Regions from separate parts of the Homo sapiens genome. Here all the other regions are linked to region 1. The links are contacts of gene promoters, found by promoter capture Hi-C in human tissues and cell types (Jung and others, 2019). All regions are on one chromosome and are shown on one strand. Each heading gives the region's core, a stretch centred on a gene start or on the middle of the fragment in contact. The rest is flanking DNA. Distances are from core to core; before and after follow the strand shown.

The links. The method cuts DNA at HindIII sites, captures the fragments that hold promoters and counts their contacts. A contact is called where the count stands out against the background at its distance.
Region 2: a fragment that was not itself captured here is called in contact with the fragment with the promoter of ZNF714 in region 1 in 1 of the 25 tissues and cell types used here (H1 embryonic stem cells).
Region 3: a fragment that was not itself captured here is called in contact with the fragment with the promoter of ZNF714 in region 1 in 1 of the 25 tissues and cell types used here (dorsolateral prefrontal cortex).
Region 4: a contact is called between a fragment that was not itself captured here and the fragment with the promoter of ZNF714 in region 1, in 2 of the 25 tissues and cell types used here (aorta and dorsolateral prefrontal cortex).
Region 5: a fragment that was not itself captured here is called in contact with the fragment with the promoter of ZNF714 in region 1 in 1 of the 25 tissues and cell types used here (adrenal gland).

What each region holds. Positions count from the first base shown.
Region 1 is chr19:21,080,720-21,083,537 of GRCh38, reverse strand. ZNF714 (zinc finger protein 714) reads right to left here and starts at 1,335. Exons shown (of 5, transcript NM_182515.4): 1 at 1,190-1,335. RefSeq lists an enhancer at 847-996. The HindIII fragment of the contact is 9,806 bases long and covers 1-2,818 here.
Region 2 is chr19:20,655,067-20,657,884 of GRCh38, reverse strand. All of the region lies in intron 1 of ZNF626 (zinc finger protein 626), which reads left to right. Among named protein-coding and RNA genes, the nearest start is that of ZNF626, 5.1 kb to the left of the region's middle. The HindIII fragment of the contact is 8,024 bases long and covers 1-2,818 here.
Region 3 is chr19:21,504,428-21,507,245 of GRCh38, reverse strand. ZNF429 (zinc finger protein 429) reads right to left here and starts at 1,644. Exons shown (of 4, transcript NM_001001415.4): 1 at 1,472-1,644. The coding sequence starts at 1,474. RefSeq lists enhancers at 659-1,260, 956-1,315, 1,326-1,645, 1,261-1,863. The HindIII fragment of the contact is 8,511 bases long and covers 1-2,818 here.
Region 4 is chr19:21,425,200-21,428,017 of GRCh38, reverse strand. ZNF493 (zinc finger protein 493) reads right to left here. Exons shown (of 4, transcript NM_001076678.3): 4 at 441-2,818. Among named protein-coding and RNA genes, the nearest start is that of ZNF493, 29 kb to the right of the region's middle. The HindIII fragment of the contact is 5,489 bases long and covers 1-2,818 here.
Region 5 is chr19:20,766,215-20,769,032 of GRCh38, reverse strand. No RefSeq gene overlaps it. Among named protein-coding and RNA genes, the nearest start is that of ZNF66, 8.7 kb to the left of the region's middle. The HindIII fragment of the contact is 4,061 bases long and covers 1-2,818 here.

The DNA.
Region 1 (2,818 bases), core at 86-2,585:
AACTGGAAATTTAATATCTTACTGCAAGCCAGAGTGAGGCTGGAGATATGGGGGACGGGAGGTTAGATTTAAGACAGTGCTTGGGACACAGTTGAAAAATGCACCAGAAAATCAGTTCCCCATGGAGTGTGAAAATAATTAAGCGGCGGGAAATTAGACTGAGGTGTCTCTAGTCCCTGGATTCCTACTTTTAAAAAAATCTGGCTGGGCGCGGTGGCTCACGCCTGTAATCCCAGCACTTTGGGGAGGCCGTGGAGGGCAGATCACCTGAGGTCGGGAGTTCGAGACCAGCCTGACCAACATGCAGAAACCCGTCTCTACTAAAACCACAAAATTAGACGGGCGTGGTGGCGCATGCCTGTAATCCCAGCTACCTGGGAGGCTGAAGCATTGGATCGCTTGAACCCGGGAGGCAGAGGTTACGGTGAGACAAGATCGCCCCATTGCACTCCAGCCTGGGCAACAAGAGCGAAACTCCATCTTAAAAAAAAAAAATCTAACTGAGGTGCATTTTTAGTAAATTACTACATTGAGAGAAACAAAATTCATCCTTAACCAACTATAAACTGCCAATTAACATCTAATTACATAACCAGGAAATTTTCACCTTTATTTTACAAATTAAGAAACTATGTATCTGAACCTAACCAATTACTGAATTTGGTTTTCTTCATCATGCTGTTTATAAAAGTCTTTACTTCAAGCCCCGCCCATAAACCATAAATTACAAACCACAGCTGGGTGCTCCACAATTTTTGAATCACGCTTTGATTAAATGCTTTAGTGTTTTAACGGTGACTCCCATACATTTTCAACAGAAGAGGAACTGGAACCCCACGGACCCATTCATAAACCCGCACCCCGAGTCAGGATTCTACCCCTGGGACCCTCCAGTGGTCCCTGCACAATCCGGGAGAGACGCGCCGCTGAGGGTCCAGAGCTGCCCTGAGAGGACTCCAGGTCAGGGCCCAGTCACTGCGCAGGGAAAAGACAGGACGCCCGGGATCCCGCAGTCAGCGCAGCCGCCATCTTATGGCTGAAGGGGACTGAGGCCGAGCTGAGCAAGGAGAACTCCGGGCGCAGATTGTAGAGTTGACTGCGGGGAGGCCTAAGTCCCACCACAGCCACTTCCCACCGCTTACAACCCGCCCCTTCCCCTCTCTCGGGATGTCGGACCCGGCACTCTCACCATTTCTAGGCTTCCGGGGTACCTGGCGTCTTAGCTGTGGATCTCTCAATACCTGCAGGTCACAGGGCCACAGAGGCTGGGCCTCTGCGAGCAGAGGACACAGGGCAGTGAAGGCGAGACCTGCAGCTCCAGCTGCAGCGAGAGACAAAGGCCCCGCCACATCCCCGAAGCCGTCCTGTCCGCTCCAGCTGCAGGCCTGATTGGACGGTTCCCAACCCAGCGTCGCTGATTGGATAACTTTTAAAACCCCACCTTCTCGTGCCCTGAGTGACAGAAGATGTGATCAGTTGCTGGGCTGAGTGAAGAAAGGGTGACAGCCTAGGCTGCAGCCTTCTCAGGCAGGGCTTCCTCCCAGAGCTGAGCCAGGCCCACCCCAGAGGGAATTTGCCTTTAAACTTGTGTGTAAAGTCATATGCATTTATAAATAATATATGGCTCTTCACAAAGGAAAAAATATAATTTTATAATAACAATTATTTTAAAATTTCAGATTTTATGACCTTCCTGGCTTCTTTCTGGTCTTTGAGCAGGCAGGCTGAGATTTTAGAAAGGAGGTAATCCTCTGAAATAAAATGTGAGCCATATGTGAATTTTAAGTTTTCTAGTAGCCAAACTTGAAAAAGAAACAAGAACAGGTTGAATTGATTGTAACAATTTAATTAACCCAATATATCAAAAAAATTTTCATTTTAATGTGTGAGAAATATGTAATTATTAATAAAGTATATAAATATTTGGAACTAAATCTTTGAAACTAACTCTGTATTTTACCTTTCTAGCATCGCACTTCAGACCAGGCGCCACACATGGCCAATAACTGCCACATTGAAGTGCAGCTCTGATGTCAGCGGTGTGAAGGGCCCAAGCAAACCTTTTCTGCCAGAGGTGAAGGAAGAGCCTCTCCCTACCAACATCTCTCTTCCGTTCCGGGGGTGGAACAGATAGTGGCCAAAGAAAGAGGAGACGGCAGCAGGAATAAAATAATTACAAGTAAAGCACTGCTGGATGAGATCACAGGCGCGCGCCACCATGCTCGGCTAATTTTTTGTATTTTTAGTAGACACGGGGTTTCACCATGTTGGCCAGGCTGGTCCTGAACTCCTGACCTCAGGTGATCTGCCCGCTTTGGCCTCCCAAAGTGTTGGGATTACAGGCGTGAGCCACCGCACCCAGCCTCAAAATGTTTTTTCTTTCTTTTTTTTTAATTTTAAAAAATGATGGGAACATGTCAAAGGGAGCCAGCCTGAAAGAACTCCCAATGGTCCATCCTGGAACAATGTTAGCATCCAAATGAATAATTAGAGCACTGACCTATAAAATAAATCAAGTCAAATAAATAAATACCCATGCATTTACACTGATACACAAAAAACTTTAAATAAATAAAAAAGAAAAAAGGATAGGGAAATTTTTTTTTACAGAATTCCAAATACTAATCAACATAGATAAAATGCTAAAGAAACCATCACAAAACCACCAGTTATTATTGTATCCAAGGTTAACTGAGGAGTGTAAAAATTGTAAATAACACTTAAAAAATAAGCATTGTATTTGCATAGCACCAAAGTATCTGACTAAATTGTACCCTTCAGTTTTAAAGCAACCTATCACTATTAAAAGCAACAATTA
Region 2 (2,818 bases), core at 80-2,579, 430 kb after region 1:
TATAAATAATAACATGCATTTGGTTTTCTGTTTCTGCATTAATTTTCTTTTTTTTGTTTGTTTTTTGTTTTGTTTTTTTGAGATGGATTTTTGTTCTTGTTGCCCAGGCTGGAGTGCAATTGTGCCACCTCGGCTCACCGCAACCTTCGCCTCCTGGATTCAAGCAATTCTCCTGCCTCAGCCTCCTATGTAGCTGGGATTAGAGTCGCATGCCACCACACCTAGCTAATTTTGTATTTTTAGTAGAGAGGGGTTTCTCCATGTTGGTCAGGCTGGTCTTAAACTCCTGAACTCAGGTGATTATCCCACCTCGGCCTCCCAAAGTACTGGGATTACAGGCGTGAGCCACCATGCCTGGACTCCGCATTAGTTTTCTAAGAATAATTGTCTCCAGCTTCATCAGTGTTATTGCAAAGGACATGGTCATTTTTTTTTAATGGCCACAGAGTATTCCATGATGTTTATGTACCATATTTTGTATTTACTAAATCTTTTATTTTATTTTATTTTTGGAGATAGGCTTATTGCCCAGGCTAGAGTGCCATAGCATGATTTTGGCGTACTTTAGCTTCCATCTTTCAGGCTCAAGCAGTTCTCTCCTACCTCATCCTCCCAAGTAGCTGGGACTACACACGTATGCATTACCATGCCTGGCCAATTTTTCATTTTGTATTTTCTGTGGAGACAGGATTTTGCCATGTTGACCAGGCTGGTCTCAAACTTCTAAGCTCAGGCAATCCACCTGCCTCGGCCTCCCAAAATGCTGGGATTACAGACATGAGCCACCGCATCTGACCATACCATATTTTCTTTATCTTGTCTACCAGTGATAGGCATTCAGGGCCTGTCTACGTCTTTGCTATTGTGAATAGTGCTGCAATGAACATGCATGTGAATATGTCTTTATAATATAATAATTTATATTTCTTTGGCTATATACCCAATTATGAGATTCCTGGGTCAAATTGATAATTCTGTTTTTAGTTCTGTGAGGAATCACCACACTGCTTTTTACTGTTGTTGAACTAATTTACACTCCCACCAGAAGAGTATAAGCATTCCCTTTTCTCTGCAACCTTGCCAGCATCTGTTATTTTTTGACTTATGAAAAACAGCCATTCTGATGGGTGTGAGGTGGTATCTCATTGTGGTTTTTCTTTTAATTTCTCTAATGACTAGCGATGACCTTTTTTTTTTTTTTAATAATGCTTGTTAGCCACATGTATGTCTTCTTTTGACAAGCATCTGTTCGTGTTATTTGCCTACTTTTTAATGAGATGTTTGCCTTTTTCTTGTAAACTTGTTTAAATTCTTAATAAATTCTGTATGTTAGACCTTTGTCATAGACAACGTTTGCAAATATTTTCTTTTATTCTGTAGGTTGTTTGTTTGAGCTATTTATAGTTTCCTTTGCTGTGAAGAAGCTCTTTAGTTTAAATAGGTCCAATTTGTCAGTTTTTGCTTTTGTTGCAATTGCTTTTGGTAGCTTCATCATGAAGTCTTTGCCAGTGTCTATATCTAGAATGTTATTCTCTATGTTATCTTGCAGAGTTTCTTATAATTTTAAGTTTTTCATTTAAGTCTTTAATTTATCTTGAGTTGATTTTTGTATATGGTGTAATGAAGGGGTCCAGTTTCAGTCTTCTACATAGTGCTAGGTAGTTATTCCTGCACCATTTATTAAAGAGAGAATTCTTCCCATATTCCTCTTGTCAGCTTTGTCAAAAATCTGATGAGTGTAGGAGGGTGACATTATTTCTGGGCTCTCTATTCTGTTGTGTTGGTCTTGTGCACTTACGGATTTCATATATCTTTCTCTCTTCTGGTTTTTCCCCTGTAAACATTATTTCAAGTGCATACAGTGTGCTAATTTCAGATGTCCAAGAGTTCAAACTCTTCAAAAAGTTCCAAAAAAAAATTTTGCTATTCCCTCTTTTCTTTTTTTTTTTTGAGGCAAAGTCTCGCTCTGCCACCCAGGCTGGAGTGCAGTGGCGCGATCTCGGCTCACTGCAACCTCTGCCTCCTGGGTTCACGCCAATCTCCTGCCTCAGCCTCCCAAGTAGCTGGGACTACAGGCACCCGCCACCATGCCCAGCTAATTTTTTTGTTCTTTTTTTTGTATTTTTAGTAGAGACGGGGTTTCACGATGTTTGCCAGGATGGTCTTGATCTCCTGACCTTGTGATCCACCTGCCTTGGCTTCCCAAAGTGTTGGGATTGCAGGCATGAGCCACCGTGCCTGGCCGCTATTCCCTCTTTTCTTAAGGGATTTAGAATATATGTAGATATTTTTCTCTGCTTGTTTGAAATATATGTAAATCATGTCAACAGCTAAATAAAAGTTTTGTCATTTTTTCTGACTCCAGATTATTATAAGTACTTAAGATGTATTGCTTTGTTTTTGGTTCCGAAAAGTTTATTTTTTTGATTTTTATTCCTTTAAGGTAGACACAGATTTGTTTAGATACAAGCTCATTTTAAGAGCACACAGAAGCTTAGCACAAAGATAGGAGTAAAGGTAGCAATACAGAATAATAAAGACTAAATGATACTCAGTTTCTTTGACAGAAACCTGATAATCCAAGGTAACTATCCAATATTTGCAGGCTGAAGTACTTATACTGCGAAAGCAAGAACAGTTCAGGGTATAAACTGAACAGTTGAGTCTGTAGTTGTACCTTGCTTTCTGTTTATTATTTCAGAGCAATTAGCAGTTATCTTTGTAGATAATCTGCATTCATATAAATTAAACCATATTTTCATTTTTTTTTTTTTTGAGACAGTCTCACTCTGTTGCCGAGGCTGGAGTGCAGTTGTGT
Region 3 (2,818 bases), core at 112-2,611, 420 kb before region 1:
CAGAGTTAGGCTGGAGGAATGGGGGGCGTGGGAGTAGATTTGAGACCCTGCTTAGGACACCTGTGAAAAATGCAGGGGAAGATCAGTTTTGTGTAGGGAGTGAAAATAGTTAAGTGGTAGGCAATTCGACTGAGGTGGCTGTAGTCCCTGAATTCCTACTTTTAAAAGATCTAACTCAAGCCGGGAGCCGTGGCTCACGCCTGTAATCCCAGCACTTTGGGAGGCCGAGATGGGCGGATCACCCGAGGTCGGGAGTTCAAGACAAGCCTGACCAACACGGAGAAACCCCGTCTCTACTAAAAATACAAAATTAGCCGGGCGTGGTGGTGCCTGCCTATAATCCCAGCTACTCAGGAGGCTGAGGCAGGAGAATTACTTGAACACGGAGGCGGAAGGTGCAGTGAGCCGAGATCGCGCCACTGCAGTCCAGATTGGGCAAGAAGAGGGAAACTCCATCTCAAAAAAAAAAAAAAAAAAACAAAAAACTAACTCAAATGCTTTTTTTTTTGTAAATTACTACACTGGGGAAAACAAATACAGGGTTAACTATTAACTGGAATTAAGCTCTGATTACATAACCAGGAAATTTTGTAAGCTGAAGATGGAAATTAAGAAACTACGTAACCCTACCTAACCAATAACTGAATTTGCGTTTTTGTACCATGCGCAAAGTCTTTCCTTCAAGCTCCTCCAAAGGACCACAAACTACATCCCACAGCTGGGTGCTTTACAATTTTAGAACCACTCTTTAATTAAATTCTTTAATATTTTGCAGTGACTCCCCTTTTTTTTTTTTTTTTTTGTTTGAGATAGTCTCATTGTGTCAACCAGCCTGGAGTGCAATGGCACAATCTTGGTCTCCTGGGTTTAAGCGATTCTCGTGCCTCAGCCTCCCACATAGCTGGGATTACAGATGCCTGCCACCACATCCGGCTAATTTTTGTATTTTTAGCAGAGAGGGGGTTTCACCATGTTGGCCAGGCTGTTCTCGAATGCCGGACCTCAGTGATCTGCCCGCCTCCCAGCAAACTGCTGGGATTACAGGCATAAGCCACCGCGCCCGGCCACTCCCATAGATTTTTAATAGGAGAGAATGGGAACTGGGAACCCCACGGACCAAAGCTCTTCCCGCTCATGAACCCGCATCCCGAGTCACTATTCTCACCTGACGCCCCTCCCATGGTTCTTGCACAATCTGGGAGAGACTGCGGAATTGCGCGTGCAGAGCTCCCCAGACAGGGCTACACGTCAGGCACAGTCACTGCGGAGGGAAGACAGGACGCCCGGGGCCCGGCTGTCAGCACAGTCGCCATCTTATGGCTGAAGGGGACTGAAGCCGAGCTGGGCAAGGAGAATTCCGGGCGCAGATTGTGGAGCTGACTGCCGGGAGACCTAAGTCCGCCACGGCCACTTCTCACGGTTCCGACCAGCCCCTCCCCCTCTCTGGGGATGTCAGACTCGGCACTCTCACCATTTCTAGGCTTCCAGGGGGTCCTGGAGTCTTAGCTGTGTATCTCCCAATATCTGCGGGTCACAGGGCCACACAGGCTGGGCCTCTAAGAACAAAGGACACAGAAATGAAGACGAGACCTGGAGCTCTGGCTGCAGCAAGAGCCAAACGCCCCGCCATATTCCGGAAACCGTCCTGTCGCTCCAGCTGCGTGCCTGATTGGATAATGTTTAAGACCCGCCCTCTCAGGCCCTGAGTGACAGAGGGTGATCAGTTGCTGGGCAGAATGAAGCGTGACAGCCTAGCTGCAGCCTTTTCAGGCAGGCTTTCCTCCGAGCTGAGCCAGGCCCACCCTAGAGGGTGTTTGCATTGAACCTTGTGTGTAAGGTCATATGCATTTATAAATATACTATATGGCTAGTCACAAATGAAAAGAATATAATAACAATTACTTTTAAATTTTAGCTTTTATCACCTTCCTAGCTTCTGGTCCTTTGAGCAGGCAGCCTGAGATTTTAAAAAGGAGGCAGTCCTCTGAAATAAAATGTGAGCCACATGTGAATTTTTAATTTTCCAGTAGCCAAACTTTAAAAAGAAACATGAAACACGTGGAATTGATTGTAATAATGTAACTAACCCAATATGTTTAAAGTATTATAATTTTAATATGTGAGCAATGTGAAAGGAAAATATCTTGGGCCCCCAAAATTACTAAGGAAAACTCAAGCTGGGAACTAAAGGCCAATCAGAAACTCAAAAGAATTTGAGTCCACCTATCTGTGACCTGGAAGCTCCCTCCAGCTTCGTGTCTTCCTGCCTTTGCTTCAAGTTGTCCCACCTTTTCAGACTGAACCAATGTACTTCTTACATATATTGATTGATGTCTCATGTCTCCCTAAAATGTATAAAACCAATATGTTCCCTGACCACCTTGGGCAGGTGTCCTCAAGACTTCCTGAAACTATGTCATAGGCGTGTTCTCAACCTTGGCAAAATAAACTTTCTAAATTAACTGATGTCTCAGATTTTCTGGGGTCACAGCAATATGTAATTATTAAGGCACTATATATATTTTTGGAACTAAATCTTCGAAACCAACTCTGTATTTTACTTTTCTAGCAAATTGCAGTTCAGACCAGGCACATTCCAGGCACCCAGGAGCCACACATGGCCAACAGCCACCACGTTGAAGTGCAGCTCTGATGTCAGGTGGGTGGAGGCCCTGAACATCCCTTTTCTGCCAGAGGTGAGGAGACAGCCTCTCTCTACTAACATCTATCTTCGGTTCTGAGGGTGCGATAGATAGTGGCCATAGCAAGGGCAGAGGGCAGCACAAATAAAATAACCACAGGTAGACCACTCTTTGCC
Region 4 (2,818 bases), core at 212-2,711, 340 kb before region 1:
GACCTGGTGATCCACCTGCCTCGGCCTCCCAAAGTGGTGGGATACAGGCATGAGCCACCACACCTGGCCATAATTGTACATGTTAAAATAAGTAAAAGTGTAGAATTGGGTTGTTTTTAATACAAAGAAATAAGTGCTAGAGGTGATGGATACCACACGTATCCCAATGTGATTATTACATATTGTATTTGTGTATCAAAATATGCCATATATGGCATAAGTATATAAACTCATGTACCCACAAAAATTAAGAAAAATAAATTTAAATGATTAAAATAAAAATAAAAATTTAACCTATAAGAACAATATTCTTTAACTTATTTGCAGTTCGAAGCCACTGGCAAAAGAGATGACTACAGATGTTAGTCCATGATGTTACCAAATAGTATATTGTTACCATCTTTTACGTATGCCATTTGGTAAGGTGGAAAATGTTAATCTTTGTGGCATAACAACACTTTATTGAATGCACAATAATATTTACCATGTTAAAAATGTTGAAACAGTTACCTTCACACAGAATTTAAAATTTTTTAAAATGTACTGCATTTTATTATATAAAAGTACAATTGGGGGGAGGGGGGACGGATAGCATTGGGAGATATACCTAATGCTAGATGACGAGTTAGTGGGTGCAGCGCACCAGCATGGCACATGTATACATATGTAACTAACCTGCACATTGTGCACATGTACCCTAAAACTTAAAGTATAATAAAAAAAGTACAATTAGTAAAATATATGAATAATATACTAGTTTTCTCATAATGCAAAAGAATATTACTCTTAACACCTACCTTGTGCATCACTCAATAGTATAAGTTAACCACAAAGAACCTCTCCACTTAGATTTTCACCATGCATCTTACATTTTAATATTCTTACTCATCCATAGAAAAGATCATAAATAATGCCCATCTAATGAAGAAGAATCTCTCATACCTCTGATGCAGCAACAAATGATCACAAGCTTTCACAAGTGAATAAGAATGAAGAAACAGCAGAAAATAATGAGTTGAGTTACATCATTTGCTTTTCAAAAAATCTGTAATTTTTTCAAGAAACAAAGTATAATCCGAATATAGTTATTATTCTACAAAAAATCTTTTACTCCTCTTAACATTATATACAAATAATTTTTCTACCAACTTTAGTTTTATTTTCTATACTCAGAACTCTCATTTAGTAGAATATTCGAAGTGTCGCTTCCTCATATATTTCTACTATAAATTCTGGTATTTACATAGACAAATTTGGATTAAAATTTTTTTTATTTTTACTACACCTTTGAAAATATATTTTCGTATAAACTCTGGTGTTTTCTAAGCTGTAGTTTTTGAAAATTTGTTTTCCCAAATTTATTACATTTGCAAGACAGCTCTCCAATATAAATTCCCTGATGTTGAACAAAGTTTGAGTGACCTCTTCAGAGTTTTTCTGTAGTACAAAATGTGGACAATAAGATCTGATACAAGTAAAGGTACTTCAACCCTCTTTATGGTTGTAATGTTCATCTTTAATATAAATACTCTCCTTCACTTTAAAGGATAATATTTTCTGAAAGATCTTTTGGCAGTAATTGCACTTATCATGCTTTTATTAAGCATGAACTCTCTGGTGTTTAGTAAGATGTGAGCAGATATTGACGTCTTTTTCACAGTCTATATTTCTACAATTTTTCTCAAATATAAATGATTTTCTGTGCAATAAGGTGTATTAGTTAAAAACTTTGCCACATTGTTCTTACTTGTAGGAAATTTTTCCAATATGAATATTACCTATAATCAAGTGTGACAACCATTTAAATACTTTGTTACATTCTCCACATTTCTAGGATTTCTCACCAATATGATTTCTTTTATGATTAGAAAAGTTTGAGATGTTGTCAGAAGCACTGTCACATCTTACTGGTTTGTAGAGTTTCTCTGCAGTAAGAATTATCGTATGTGTGTTAAGAACTGAGGACTAGTTAAAGCCTTTGCCATATTTTTCACAATCATAGGGTTTCTCTCCAGTATGAATTTTCTTATGTTTAGTAAAAATTGAGGACTGGTTAAAGGCTTTGTCACATTCTTCACATTTGTAGGGTTTCTCTCCTGTATGAATTATTTTGTTCAATAAAGTTTGAGGACTGGTTAAAAGCTTTGCCACATTCTTCACAGTTGTATGGTTTCTCTCCATCATTAATTATGTTTACTAGGAGTTGAGGACTGGATAAAGGCTTTGCCACATTCTTCACATTTGTAAGATTTTTCTCCAGTATGAGTTATCTTATGTTTAGTAAGGTTTGAAAATTGGTTAAAAGCTTTGCCACATTTTTCACATTTGTAGGGTTTCTCTCCAGCATGAATTATCTAATGTGTAGTAAGGGTTGAGGATTGGTTAAAAGGTTTGCCACATTTTTCACATTTGTAGGGCTTCTCTCCAGTATAAATTATCTTATGTGCAGTAAATTGGAGGGACAGGCTAAAGGCTTTGCCACATTCCTCACATTTGTAGGTTTTCTCTCCAGTATGAATTATCTTATGTTTACTAATGGATGAGGATTTGTTAAAAGCTTTGCCACATTCTTCACATTTGTATAATTTATCTCCTTTATGAATTATTTTATGTTTAGTAAGGTATAAGAATCAGTAAAAAGCTTTGAGACATTCCTCATATTTGTAGGGTTTCCTTCCAGTATGAATTATCTTACGTGTAGGCAGGGTTGAGAAGTGGTTAAAAGCTTTGTCACATTCTTCATATTTGTAGGATTTCTCTATGGTATGAATTCTCTTATGTTTAGTAAGGGATGAGAACTAATTAAAGCCTTTGCCAC
Region 5 (2,818 bases), core at 180-2,679, 310 kb after region 1:
CACACTGCTCTTCCTTCCTCTCCATGGATCACGCCAGCCACCTAGTCAGTTCTGATGAAAGAACATGGATACCTCAGGTTATGGTACAGCATTCACACACTGTTATGGTTCTTTTCTATGGGATGCCGCTTCTAATCAGCCATCTTGGCCCTGCCCCTGTAGCAGGATGAGCCACAGACAAAACTCCTCAGACACCAAATTAAAGAAGGAAGGGGTTTATTCGGCTGGGGACATCGGTAAGACTCCTGTCTCAAGAGCTGAGCTCCCCGAGTGAGCAATTCTAGTCCCTTTTAAGGGCTCACAACTCTAAGGGGGTCTGCGTGAGAGGGTCATGATCGATTGAGCAAGCAGGGGGTACATGACTGGGGGCTGCATACACTGGTAATTAGAATGGAACATAACAGGATAGGGATTTTCACAGTGCTTTTCTATACAATGTCTGTAATGTATGGATAACATAACCAATTAGGTCAGGGGTCGATCTTTAACTACCAGGCCCAGGGTGTGGCGCTGGGCTGTCTGCTTGTGGATTTCATTTCTGCCTTTTAGTTTTTACTTTTTCTTTCTTTGGAGGCAGAAATTGGGCATAAGACAATATGAGGGGTGGTCTCCTCCCTTACCCCCACCAATTTTTCTTTGAAAGGCTAGTAGAATTCAGCTGTGAATCCACCTGGTTCTGAACATTTTTTTTTTGGTTGGCAATTTTTTAAATTATTATTTCAATCTTGCTTCTTGTTATTAGTCTGTTCAGAGTTGTTTTTTTTTTAATCTAGGAGGATTGTACATTTGCAGGAATTTATTCATCTCCTTTACATTTTCTAATTTGTGCACATAAAGGTGTTCACAGTATCCCTAAATGATCTTTTGTATTTCTGTGGCAGCGGTTGCAATATCTTCTGTTTCATTTCTAATTGAGCTTATTTGGATCTTCTCTCTTCTTGGTTAATGCTGTTAATGGTCTATCAATTTTGTTTATCTTTTCTAAGAGCCAGCTTTTCATTTCATTTATCATTTGGATTTTCGTTGTTGTTGTTGTTTCAGTTTCATTTAGTTCTGCTCTGATCTTTGATATTTCTTTTCTACTGCTGGGTTTGGGCTTGGCTTGTTCTTGTGCCTCTAGTTCCTTGAGGTGTTATCTTACATTGTCAACCTATGCTCTTTCAGACTTTTTGATGGAAGAACTTGATGCTATGAACTTTCCTTTCAGCACCACTTCTGCTGTATCCCAGACGTTTTGATAGGTTGTGCCATTATTATTGTTCAGTTCAAAGAATTTTTAAATTTAAATCTTGATTTCATCCAAAGATCATTCAGAACCAGGTTGATCTTAAATTTAATTATTTATTTAATTTCCATGTATTTATTTAATTTCTACAATTTATTTAATTTCCATGTATTTGCATTGTTTTGATGGTTCATTTAGAGTTGATTTTGAATTTTATTCCACTGCAGTCTGAGAGAGTAGTTGATATAATTTTGATTGTCTTAAATTTATTGCGACTTGTTTTGTGACCTATCATGTGTCTATCTTGGAGAATGTTCCATGTGCTGATGAATAAAATGTATATTCTGCAGTTGTTGTGTGGAATGTTCTGTAAATATTTGTCAAGTCCATTTGTTCTAGGTTATAGTTTAAGTCCATTCCCTTTTTTGTTGTTATTGTTGACTTTGTCTTGATGACTTGTCTAGTGCTGTCAGTAGAGTATTGAAGTTCCCCATTATTATTGTGTTGCCATTTATCCCTTTTCTTAGATCTAGTAGTAATTGTTTCATGAATTTGGGAGCTCCAATGTTAGGTGCATATATATTTAGGATTATGATATTTTCCTATTGGACTAGTCCTTTTTTATCATTATATAATGTCCCTCTTTGTGTTTTTTATTTTTTACCTGTTTTTGCTTTAAAGCTTGTTTGTCTGATGTAAGAATGGCTACTACTGCTTGCTTTCAGGGTATCAGGGTACGTTTACATGGAATATCTTTTTCCAATCCTTTACCTTAAGTTTATGTTAGTCCTTATGTGTTGGGTGAGTCTCTGGAAGACAGCAGATATTTTATTGGTAAACTCTTATCTATTCTGCTATTGTGTATGTTTTAAGTGGAGCATTTAGGCCATTTACATTCAACATTAGTATTGAGGTGTGAAGGACTGTTCTATTCATTGTGCCAGTAGTTTCCTGAATACCTCTTATATTGTGTTATTGTTTTATAGGCCTTGTGAGATTTATGCCTTAAGGAGGTTCTATTTCAGTGTATTTTGAGGTTTTGTTTCAAGATTTAGAACACTTTTTAGCAGTTCTTACAGTGGTGGCTTGGTAGTGGTGAATTCTCTAAGCATTTGTTTGTCTGGAAAAGACCGTATCTTTCTTCATTTATGAAGCTTATTTTCACTGAATACAAAATTTGGGCTGATGCTTGTCTTGTTTAAGGAGGCTAAACATAGGACCCCAATCCCTTCTAGCTTGTAGGGATTCTGTTGAGAAATCTGCTGGTAATCTGATATGTTTTTCTTTATAGGTTACCTGATGCTTTTTTCTCACAGCTCTTAAAAATCTTTCCTGTATATTGACTTCAGATAACCTGATGACTGTGTGCCTAGGTGATGATCTTCTTGTGATGAATTTCCTTGGAGTTCTTTGAACTTCTTGTATTTGGATGTCTAGATCTCTAGTAAGGCCAGGAAAGTTTTTCTCAGTTATTTCCTCAAATAAGTTTTCCAAACTTTTAGATTTCACTTCTTCCCTGGGGACACCAATTATTCTTAGGTTTGGTTTTTTACATAATTCCAAGCTTCTTGGAGGTTTGGTTCATTTTTTAAA